2 separate regions of the Homo sapiens genome follow, and region 1 is linked to region 2. Evidence: promoter capture Hi-C in human tissues and cell types (Jung and others, 2019). All regions are on one chromosome and are shown on one strand. Each heading gives the region's core, a stretch centred on a gene start or on the middle of the fragment in contact. The rest is flanking DNA. Distances are from core to core; before and after follow the strand shown.

Region 1 (5,081 bases), core at 362-2,861, 120 kb after region 2:
CATTACATTTCGACTGGATAGTGCTGTTCTACATCTTCACTGTGGTGGTGGAAACATCTGTCAAAACTGTACACTTAAAATGCGTACATTTTACTGTATAAAAATTATGCCTCAATAAAGTAGACAAAAATATTAAATTGGTAGTGAATATATGCTTGTGTGTGTGTGCACATATGTGTGGGAAGGAGGGAGTATGTATCAATGAGTATCTTGTTTGTGATCTTTCTTCATCAATAATCAGAAAGGAAAAAAATTCACTGAGTATATATACATGCAAAAGTAACTGTTCTCCTGAAGCGTCATCATATTAAATTATATTATAGTTATTTAATGTGTGCATCCCTCACTAGCCTTTGAGCTTCTTGGAGGCAGGAACCCTGTTTTGTTCATCTCTGTATAAACCTAGCACTTAACGTAGAAAGTTAACATAGTACCTTAGCAGTGTTTTGCAACTGTAGAATTCTCCTAGATACTTTATATAGTTTAATTCTGCCAAAATACCTGTAAATTTGGTATTATTAGTGCCGGTTTTCAGATGAAAAACTGAGGGTGAGAAGGTCACAAAGGTTAAAGTAACTCACCAAATATCCAGAGCTAGTAAGTAAAAGAGCATGTTCCAAACCCACACTTACAAGTCCCAGGCCCATTCTTCCACCCTGCTCCATACTGCCACCTCTCCATGTGGGCATTTCACAACTGTCTGATGAATGACTGAGTCAAAGTAAAGATCTATATTTAGGGGCAATGGAACCACAGAAACTTTCCTGAACTTCTAGTGTTACAGCTTCATAGTCTTGAATAGGCTCTCTCTAGACAAAGAGCCACCTGGCAGCTCTTACTAGAAGATCAGAAAGGGTGACTATAGTATGGAAAAAAAATTCCATCCCAATTAAACTTTCCATTTGGGAGTCTGAAGAAAAATAACACAGAACAAAGAGTATGGGAATGAGAAAAAAGGAAATGCTGAATCTGCTAATATAGCTAATTAATGCCAAAGAATGAATGTAACAGCAACTTCAGCATTCAAAAATGAAGTTAGGAGATCTAGAGAGGTACAGTTTCTAAGTTTTTTGGAGCTCTCCTTTAATTAGCCTCCCTGAATCTCAGCATTCCTGTTTGAATAATCCATATTTCTGGTTATTTATTCAGCTCCCCTCTGCTATGCAATACCTAGCCATATGCTGCAGAAATATATCACTTCATATTTGCACTCAACCAACCAAAGACACTGGCAATTCAGACCTTTAAGAAGCTTAAGGAAAAGTCCCTTCAGAACATTGTGTTAAGGTTAGAAGATCCAAGAAGCCAAATGTATCTTCTATTTATGCTATTTACTTGAGAGAAGGTGGGTCATTTCAACAAAAGGACAAGCAATTAGAAGGGTAAGGGAGATAAACAAAAGACTCAAGAGAGTAAAGCTAGCAAAAATCAGCTAAACACAAAAGGCCTCTGAGTAATTTCTCATGCTCCTCTCTGCATTTTTTTAAAAATTGTTTTTAAAAGCAATTCCTCAAAGGAAGACTTTTGGTCAATGCAAGGTCTGGTACACACTGGACAAATGAAGAGGTCTACTGTGCCTCCAGCCCCCCAGAAGCCTTTTAAAGATAATATATTTTAGAAATATACACAGTAAGTCATCACTTAACATCATAGATAGACTTGGAAATGGCAACTTTAAGTAAAACGGGATATAGGAGGTCAGATCCTCAAATAACACCGTTATAACAATGATCAGAAAAACTGGTTTCATTATACATCATTTCGCTTAAAGTTATGGTTTCCAAGAATGTTACTGATGATGTTAAGTGAGGACTTACTGTACCTGGATAATCCTAACATCATTTTAAACACAAAAATGGTCACTGTAGAATTTGTTATAACGGCAAAACATTGGAAATATCCTCAATGCCAACAACAGAAGAATACTAAGTAAGCTACAGTCCCTTAGAGGCCATGATGCAGTTACTGAAAACTCTCATGAAGATTATTCACAGCATGGGAAACAGCATCTTATGTCTGAAATGTAGCAATACAGAAAATCCTATGTGTGGCAGGCTTAAAAAGTTGTTAAAAATTATAGAAAAAAAGACTAGAAGAAAATATACACCCAAAGACAGGCTGTGTTTAGCTCACAGAACTGTTTTCCTAACTTTGTGGAGACAGAAATTCTGTCTTAGGTATTTCTGTGTATGCCCAGTACTTAACATAGTACCTTGTCAATGTTTTAATAGCAGTTTTATATGTTAGTATTCTAAATTCTATTTAACAAATATATATCACATTTATGAAAAACCTTTCCAAAGAAATATCTTAGTTCAACAGAACTTTCAGTATACTTGAAGTTTTAAGACAGCAGACTCTGGCTCCATTTCTTTTTTTCTTGTTTTTTTTTTTTTTAAATCTCAACTTGCTCCTCTGTAGGGCACAATTCATAATGACTAGAATCTTCCAACCACATAAACATGCTCGATTTTTTTTTTTAAGTCCCTTGACCCTATACCACAGTCTGGTTATCCCCTCAGCCTTCCCCCACACACTTCTCTACTCCCCTTCCTAGACAGGGTCTCAAGAGTTATCAACATAAGCTTCCTCTCCCCTTTTTGCTTCTAACTTTAGGATTCTATAAAATAACTGTGAAACTAATATAAGATCCACTTTCAGGAATTAGCGTATAAATAATAAGACACACAAGGAAAGTACTATAAATAAAAGTTTCTAGAACTGTCTTGCACGTTTTCATATTTCCTAAGCTAGGCATACAGCACATGTACAACTCATTACTGAATGAGGAGTGAAAAATATGAATGATACGCTGCTTTCAATAAAAATACAAACATATGGCATAGATAGGTCTATGTGATATATACAGAAAATTAGTCCAAGTTTAGAAGTAATGGCTAGATTTCCCCAAAACTAACACACTATGGGAAGGAGAGGAAAAACACCAATGTCCTTCAATGGAGTGGACGTATTAGCAACCACCACAGTAGGGCACAAACAGAACACAATATACTTTTTATTCATCTACTCTAACTTTAGGAAAGACCACATACCTATACAAACACATCCCCCCATGCCTGAAGACTTTACTCTTCAGGGTAAAGTCTAGGAAACCCAACAGAATAAATGATCATAGCTACATGCTCTTGAATTCAGGCTAACAGTGAAAAGTCAGGCAAAAAAGGTGGGAGAACTAGGGCATTCGAAACATACCTGAGCATGAGATTCATCAGCTGAAGACCCTCGCCCTTCAGGAAGCGCTCACGATTGGAACTAAGCATTAGACAGGAGCAGAGGGAATCAAACAGATTCTCCATCATCTCCTGCTCCTCAGCCGTGCTGGGATTGTGTCTTTTAAACACCTGTCAAGCAAAAACAGCACAAAGCACAGAGCTATAAGAGAATGTCTTTTCATGAGCCTCCATCCAACAATTCCTAAAACCTGTGGGTCATAACTCTACGACTGAGGAAACAGAAGCTCACCAAACAAAATTCTCATCAGTTTCCATTTTAGAGAAACTAAATGATTCACATATATTAAATACATGCAAAAAAAAAAGCCAAAACACTCTACTGACCACTGGGTCCATCAGTAATTGACAGTTCCAGGCAAGCAGATTTTTTTAAAAACCAAAACCCAATAAAAAACAAAATCTTTTTATCGTGAAATATAACACAGATACAGAAAAACTCCATAAAGGACATATAAAACTAAATGAAGTGAACACCCCTGAAATCATTATCCAGGATGAGAAACAACTTTGCCAACTCCCCTCAAAGCCCTCCACTTGCCCAACCCAACCATATCTCATTTCTTTCCCTTCTAAAAGCAACCACAATCCAGAGGGCTGAATCGTGGCTCAATATAAGGAAGCATTTCCTGACAACCAAGGCTACTGAATTCCCTCACAGGGGAGCTGGGGCTTTAATTCATGGGAAGGGCTTACAGCATTAGTTTTCTTTTTGCCAGAGATGTAAGGCATGTTAAGAGAAGCCTTTAAACTGTATATGCATACCCATACAGTCTACTACAAGAAGATCAATAATCTCACAGGAAAAGGACTAAGCACCTTCCCAGAACTGGAAACAGATTCACATTTCAAAGCTCTATTTTTGGGGTGGAGGCCAAGACACTCAGGCTGCTGGCACCAAGATGGAAGCTGTATGCAAACTGACATCTCAGACTCTCCCAACACTCTTAAGATTTTATCCAAATGATCTATTTTCAGTCCTGTTTTTAGAATAACACAGCTAAAACTTGTAAGAGGAAATCTTAACAGTATTTTCAGAATGCCAGCAGAATAACATTTCAACTGGATTTACATTTCTTACAGTGAGAAAATGGCAGTTTCCAAGTTCTCACTCCAGCCTTCAGCACCACATCCTCCCCTATCCTCCCCTTGACCCCCACCCCACTGCAGTGGAACTTGTACTCCTTGAGCTTATTCAGATCCTAAATGAACATACTCCATTTTCACAGCAGATTGAAAGGAAGGTTGGTGAATAATCTTGGCAGTGGGTCAAATGAAAATAATTTGGTATGCTTGGCCCAGAACATACACACTTAAGCATGAGGCACATCTTTTTTGAGTTGACAATATCATATCAGAAGATGAAGAAAGTTCAGAACTGATACACAGTGATGTCTGGTCATAAAGAGCAAATGACTAAGAAAAGGAGGCAAACCATGTCCCTCCGTATAACCCTCAAACCTGCCAACATGCTCCATATGGCTTGCAGCACATGGCTTATTCCTTCCCACAGTTTCCAGCTCCACCTCCCATTCAAAGCAGACCATGTATCTTACAGCAGACAGGAAGCATAAGAATTACTCACGGATAACTGCTGAAGAAGCACATCGATTCCATCCAGCTCCCCAAGCAATTCCCTGTTTTCTAAAGGGGAAAAAAATAGAGGAAGAAAAAAAATGAACCTAACTGTCAGATTTTACAGCCGTCTAACACTGATACATCAGCAAACAAAATCAATACAGCTTGACAGAGTACAAAAGCAGCACAGGGAGTGAGAGGGAGAGCAAGGGGATGCCAAAGGCAAGAGAGCTTGCTGTCATGATCTGAAAC
Region 2 (4,999 bases), core at 1,666-4,165:
CAGAGACACCTTCCCGACTGGGCCACATTTCCTGAATCAGCTGAGGACACACGGAGCCCAGGAATAATGAAATGATCAGGCCCCAATCTGCTAAACAGCAATTTCTGAGCTTTTTCAGCACACACAGCTTTTATCAAATTGGTATTCTCCTCCTGAACACAAATAGCTTATTAGACATGACCCACTTATTCGCCGCGTCTCACTATCATTAATAACAGTTTCTTTTTGTGATTAAGTGAGTGGCTCCAAACCCTTCCTGTGGTGGCGGGTGCTTGGCACGGCAGAGGGGCAGCTGTGGGGGCTCCTCGGCAGTCACTACTTGGTGACTTTGAACCTGGCAATGTCGGGGGAAGGCAGCCTGGCCCCTGCAGAGCAGCCTGGCTTCTTTGTTTCTTTAGGGACACAGGGAGACCCAGAGGGGTGGCTCACTTGCCCAGAGCCACACGGGGGTTTCAGGAGAGAAGCCAGGTTCCCCAGCAACTAGGGGTGCCTCCTTCTCATCTAGCCCCTGTCCTGGGCCTTAGCTTGACCTTCCAGGGTGCAGAGGGGAGATTACAGCTGGTTGGGCAGAGCTGTGCCCCCTCAGCTTACCTGGCACCAGGGGACAGGTAGAGACTGTCACACAAAGGGCAGACAGACCCTGCTTTTCTATGGGGGGGAGCCACCTTGGGGCCTTGGGAATAACAGACTGGCACCCAAGTCCCTGGGGTCTGGTGCTCTAGGGACAGAACGACCATAAGCCTCAGAGTCCCATTCCTCATACCCCTCGGGACTGCAAACTCAGGGAAGGCCCTCCATGGAAACCCCTCCTAGTGTAAGTTCCAACTGTGCCAAGGGACTGAGCGGAGCGAGGAGAGGAGGGGTGGAGAGGGAGGAATTCCCAGTTTCCCTAGAATGGGAGGGAATCTGACAGGGAGATGAATGTCCTGGAAAAAAGCGCTGTCTTTGCCTGACAGACCCTGGGGCCTGTCCTGGCTCAGTCACTCTCTTACTGTGTGACCTTGGGCAACTTCCTTCACCTCTCTGAGCCTTGGTTTCCCTATCTGTAAGTTGAGGATCAAAAGAACCCTTTCCTTATTTACCACCGCTCTAGCCAGGTCGGTAGAAATGAGGTGAGGGGCATGAAGGGTATGTAAATGATGCACACAGCAGTTACTACCAAACATGGTGAGGCAGAAGGGGGCGGGGAGTCATGGTTCCCAAAAAGCAGAGACCCTGAGGATGGCTTCGAAGCCCCCCTCTCCACTGGAGCAATCCCACTCATGTGTCATACCCCAGCAAAACCTTCCCTGATTATCTACCCTGCCTTACCCCCACTCACTCCCATCAGAATAAATCATCCAATTATCTGGCCTTTGTGCAAACCTCCCCACAGCCCTGGGCCCACAGTGCCCAGCACTGGGGCTGCAGCCTCCCCAACAAGGCTGTCAGCCTGTCTAGTGAAGGGCTGCATGGAAGAAAGGTCTCCTTTGGTTTCATCTATGCTCGAGCCTCCATCCCAGAGCCAGGCTCACAGGGGTCAGGGGGAGCCCCCACAGCTGCCGGGCTCATACAGTCCAACTCTGCTGCCAACTTGGGCTCCTTCGGGGCTAGCAGGAGCTTCTGACACTCAGCCAGCCAGTGCTGGGAATGCTTGTCTGCTCCCCGGCTTCCACAGCGGCTGGAGTTGAGATTTCCCACATTTCAGTCCTCTAGGGCCGAGGATGAGGATGGGGGTACCCTATGGAAGGATGGCACGGCTTCCTGCCCATCCCCAGAGGCAGACAAAAGCACCCGGCATTCCACTTCCACTCCCACTCCCATGCCTCTGGCTGCAAGCAGCAACCCCAACTACTCCGGTGGCTCTGAGGGGCTTCCACCAGGTGCCACCCGCCCAACTGGGAGGCTGCAGCCCCAGGCGACCAGTTCTCAAGAAACAAGGTCTTCTGCCCCCAAGGACCTTTCCAGTGGTATAGGGCTGGGTGTGGAGAGGAAGAGGACAAGGGCCTCTGTGCGGTTAAACCCAGAAGAGTAAAGGCAGATGGGCAGAGAGGAGTGGGTGAGCAAATTGTGTTCATGTGTGTGTATGTGTGTGCCTGTGTGTGTGTGCGCGCGCGCGCACCAGTGTGTCTGCAGGTGGGCAGGCAAGAGTTGTGGCGAAGCGTGTGCGCCAGCTGGCAGAGTGAGCCCACCGGCGCAGTGCCTGATGTGCGTGTGTAGTGGGCATAAGTGTAAAGGCTTGCAGTGAGGAGGGGGACCTGAGGTGTGTGGAGATGTGCAGGGTAGGAGTTGTGAGTGTGAGAAAGCAGCGACTGTGGCTCTGAGTGTGTCCGCGGCTGTGCATATCGGTGTGGCCATGCAGGTGTGCGTATCCGCGCGAGTGTGTGGGGAGGAGGTTCGGGGGTGCGCCCCGGGTGCCCCCTTCTCTGCAGGGCCAGGGTGCCAGGGCGGGTCCACCGCGCCGGCAGGGGGCGCCCCGGGATGCCCGCCACGACTGGCGCCGGTTCGAGCCCCGGGGCGGCCAAGTTGGAGTGGCGCGGCCCGGGTTGGGGTTTGGTGGGGAAGTCCGCGGGGGCGGCGACCGAACTCACCGTGGCCGGAGACGTGGTTGTCCCAGGGCGCGTGGCCGGCGGGCCGCGTGGCGCCGCCGAGTTGCAGGAAAAGTGCCAGGTAGTGGAGGGCGCCCAGCGCTACGGCGAGCGGGGCCCCCATCGTGCGCTCTCGGGCCGGGGGCGCCGCCGCCTCACATCTGGGCCCCGGAGACCGCAGAACCGGCGCCAGCTGTCCCCTGCCCTGAGCGGCCTGGCTGCCCGGCTCCGGCAGCTGCCCCTCGCCCGCTGTCCCCGGACCCGGCCCAGCTCCCAGCCCTCGCCCGGCTCCGGCCCAGCCCCGGCTTCGGGGAGCGAGCGCACGCCCAGCCGGCCGCCTCCGACTGCGGGACTCTTCCCTTCCGCGGAAGGCCACGCCGCGCCGCCGCCGCACCCTCCTCCCTCCTCCCGCCTCCCTCCTCCCCTCCCTCCTCCCCTCCCTCCTCCCGCTCGGAGCAGGCGGCGGAGGGATCTGCCGCTTGATTTATCATCAAAGTTTTGCCCAGGCTGGGATTTTTAAAGCGGTACCCGCAACTTTCCCCCGCCCGAGTGCGGAGGCGGGGCCGGGATGGGGCGGAGAGAGCCACCCCAGGGACGCGGTTCCCGCAAAGCACGACCCAACGGGCTTCAGCCACAGAAATGCCGTCCAGCGGGGAGAGGGAGAAAAGCCAGGGCACCCGCCGCCAGGCCAGCGCACTCAGAGGCTCCTAACTTTACCGGCAGGGCGGGGCCGGGGTCAGGGGCCAGTGGGGCTGGGGGTGAGGGCGAGGTAGGGTGGGAGCCTGGGCTGAGACCCAGGGGACCTGGTGATAGCTCTGCCGCCGACCTCGGCTCGCTGTGTGATCGCGTCCGGGTGTCTACCCCTCTCTGAACCTCGAAGTCTTCATCTGAGAAATAGGGGTAATAGCTGTCTGCGGGGGTCCTGGTGAGGATTTGCGAAATCGTGCATGCAAAGCGCTTAGCATAATGCTGCCTACGTGGTAGGAGCTCAGTAGTTATTATTGTCGGTGTTCCCCTTTCTGGGACTCAGTTTTCGAGTCTTTGTAATGGGAGAGAGACAGGCCAGTTAGTTGTTGCGGCTCCTGGCTCTTGAAGATACTGGACCTTATGTGGTGGATGGGATCGCCCCCTTCTGGACTGTAGGCTCCTTCCCTAGACCAATGAGCCTTGATGGTGTGTGTGTGCATGAGTGTGTGTGTGCGTGTGCGTGTGCGCGCGCGTATGCGTGGGTGTATGTGTGTGTGAGTGTGGCAGGGGAGGGGGATAGGGCACCATTCCCATTCCCAAGAGCAAGAATCCAACAAAGTCCTCCAGTTCCTTCCCAAGCCGTGTTACTGGGGCTGATGGGACAGACAGGAGGGCGGAACTGTGGTCCCATTTAAAAGATAAGGAAGCGCCTGAAATCAGGTAATTAGCTTCTCTGAGGTCCCACGGCGAGTCGGGCGAGGCCCCTGACTCCTGGGCGGGGTCCCTCCTGCTCTCATCCCTTGCCCTTCCCCAGGCCTCCCTGCTCACACAGCCTGGTCCTCCCGGTTTCAGCACCACGGAGGAGGACAGCGCCAGCCCCCCCCCCGCCCCCCGCCCCCCGCCCCACCCGGGCCCATCCTTTGGGCACCGTGGACAGCGTCTCAACTGGCCCTTTGATGCTAGGGTTCACACCGTGGACAGACCCTCAGACTTTCTTCCCCGTCCCCGTCGAACAGGGTCAACCCCTCCGACAGCCCACTCCCCACTCCAGAACACAGGTGGATCCCGCGTCCAGCCGTGTGTACAGCGCCCAAGTTTGAGAACAAGGTTAGAGACCAAGGAACATAGCCCCTCGCCGTCTTCCCTCTGTCTTAGCGCCCCCCTTCCAGTATTATGGGGGGGGGGTAGCACACCGGATGGGGCCCGTGGTAGCCAGCAACAATCCAGCTCCTTCCAAACTAAGGACACCTCCTCCACGATGTCCCGCACTTACAAGCACTGTGTTCTAGCACCGTCCACAGCCCCCGCGCTCCCTTCAGTACCGAGGACAGGTCCCAAGCGTCGACCGCTTCCCCCACCCCCCGAACCTTCTGGACCACATGCCTTGGAGGAAGGGGCCGTGTTTGCCTGATTCTCTCACTTCTCACTTTCTTCCCACACAGAGGTGGTGTTTAGGTTATCCTGGGCTGGCCAGGCGTCTTGGACTCTATGCACGTGTTTTCTCATTCATTAACTACCCTGAACCCCGCTCCCAGCGAAATGAACTACTGCTTCCATCATAAAGATATGGAAACTGAGAATCCTCCAGATCACATAGCAGCCACCATGTTAGCCAGACTAAAACCCAGGACTCCTTCAACCCCAGCCTGAGGCCTCACCAGGAGACTGTGGTGACAGAACTGGGACTCAAACCCGGGCTTTCTCCTCTTAAACCACAGATTGGAGGGAGCAGACACAGGCAAGGG

Evidence for each region. Contacts are between HindIII fragments. The study calls those that stand out against the background at their distance.
Region 1: a contact is called between a fragment that was not itself captured here and the fragment with the promoter of VSTM2L in region 2, in 3 of the 25 tissues and cell types used here (IMR-90 fibroblasts, bladder and neural progenitor cells).

The regions. Positions count from the first base shown.
Region 1 is chr20:37,777,468-37,782,548 of GRCh38, reverse strand. It overlaps CTNNBL1 (catenin beta like 1), which reads right to left. Exons shown (of 16, transcript NM_030877.5): 9 at 4,837-4,895; 10 at 3,214-3,362. Among named protein-coding and RNA genes, the nearest start is that of CTNNBL1, 86 kb to the right of the region's middle. The HindIII fragment of the contact is 4,926 bases long and covers 1-4,074 here.
Region 2 is chr20:37,901,043-37,906,041 of GRCh38, reverse strand. VSTM2L (V-set and transmembrane domain containing 2 like) reads right to left here and starts at 2,915. Exons shown (of 4, transcript NM_080607.3): 1 at 2,571-2,915. The coding sequence starts at 2,691. All of the region lies in intron 2 of LOC124904896 (a long non-coding RNA gene), which reads left to right. RefSeq lists an enhancer at 2,652-3,615. The HindIII fragment of the contact is 19,122 bases long and covers 1-4,999 here.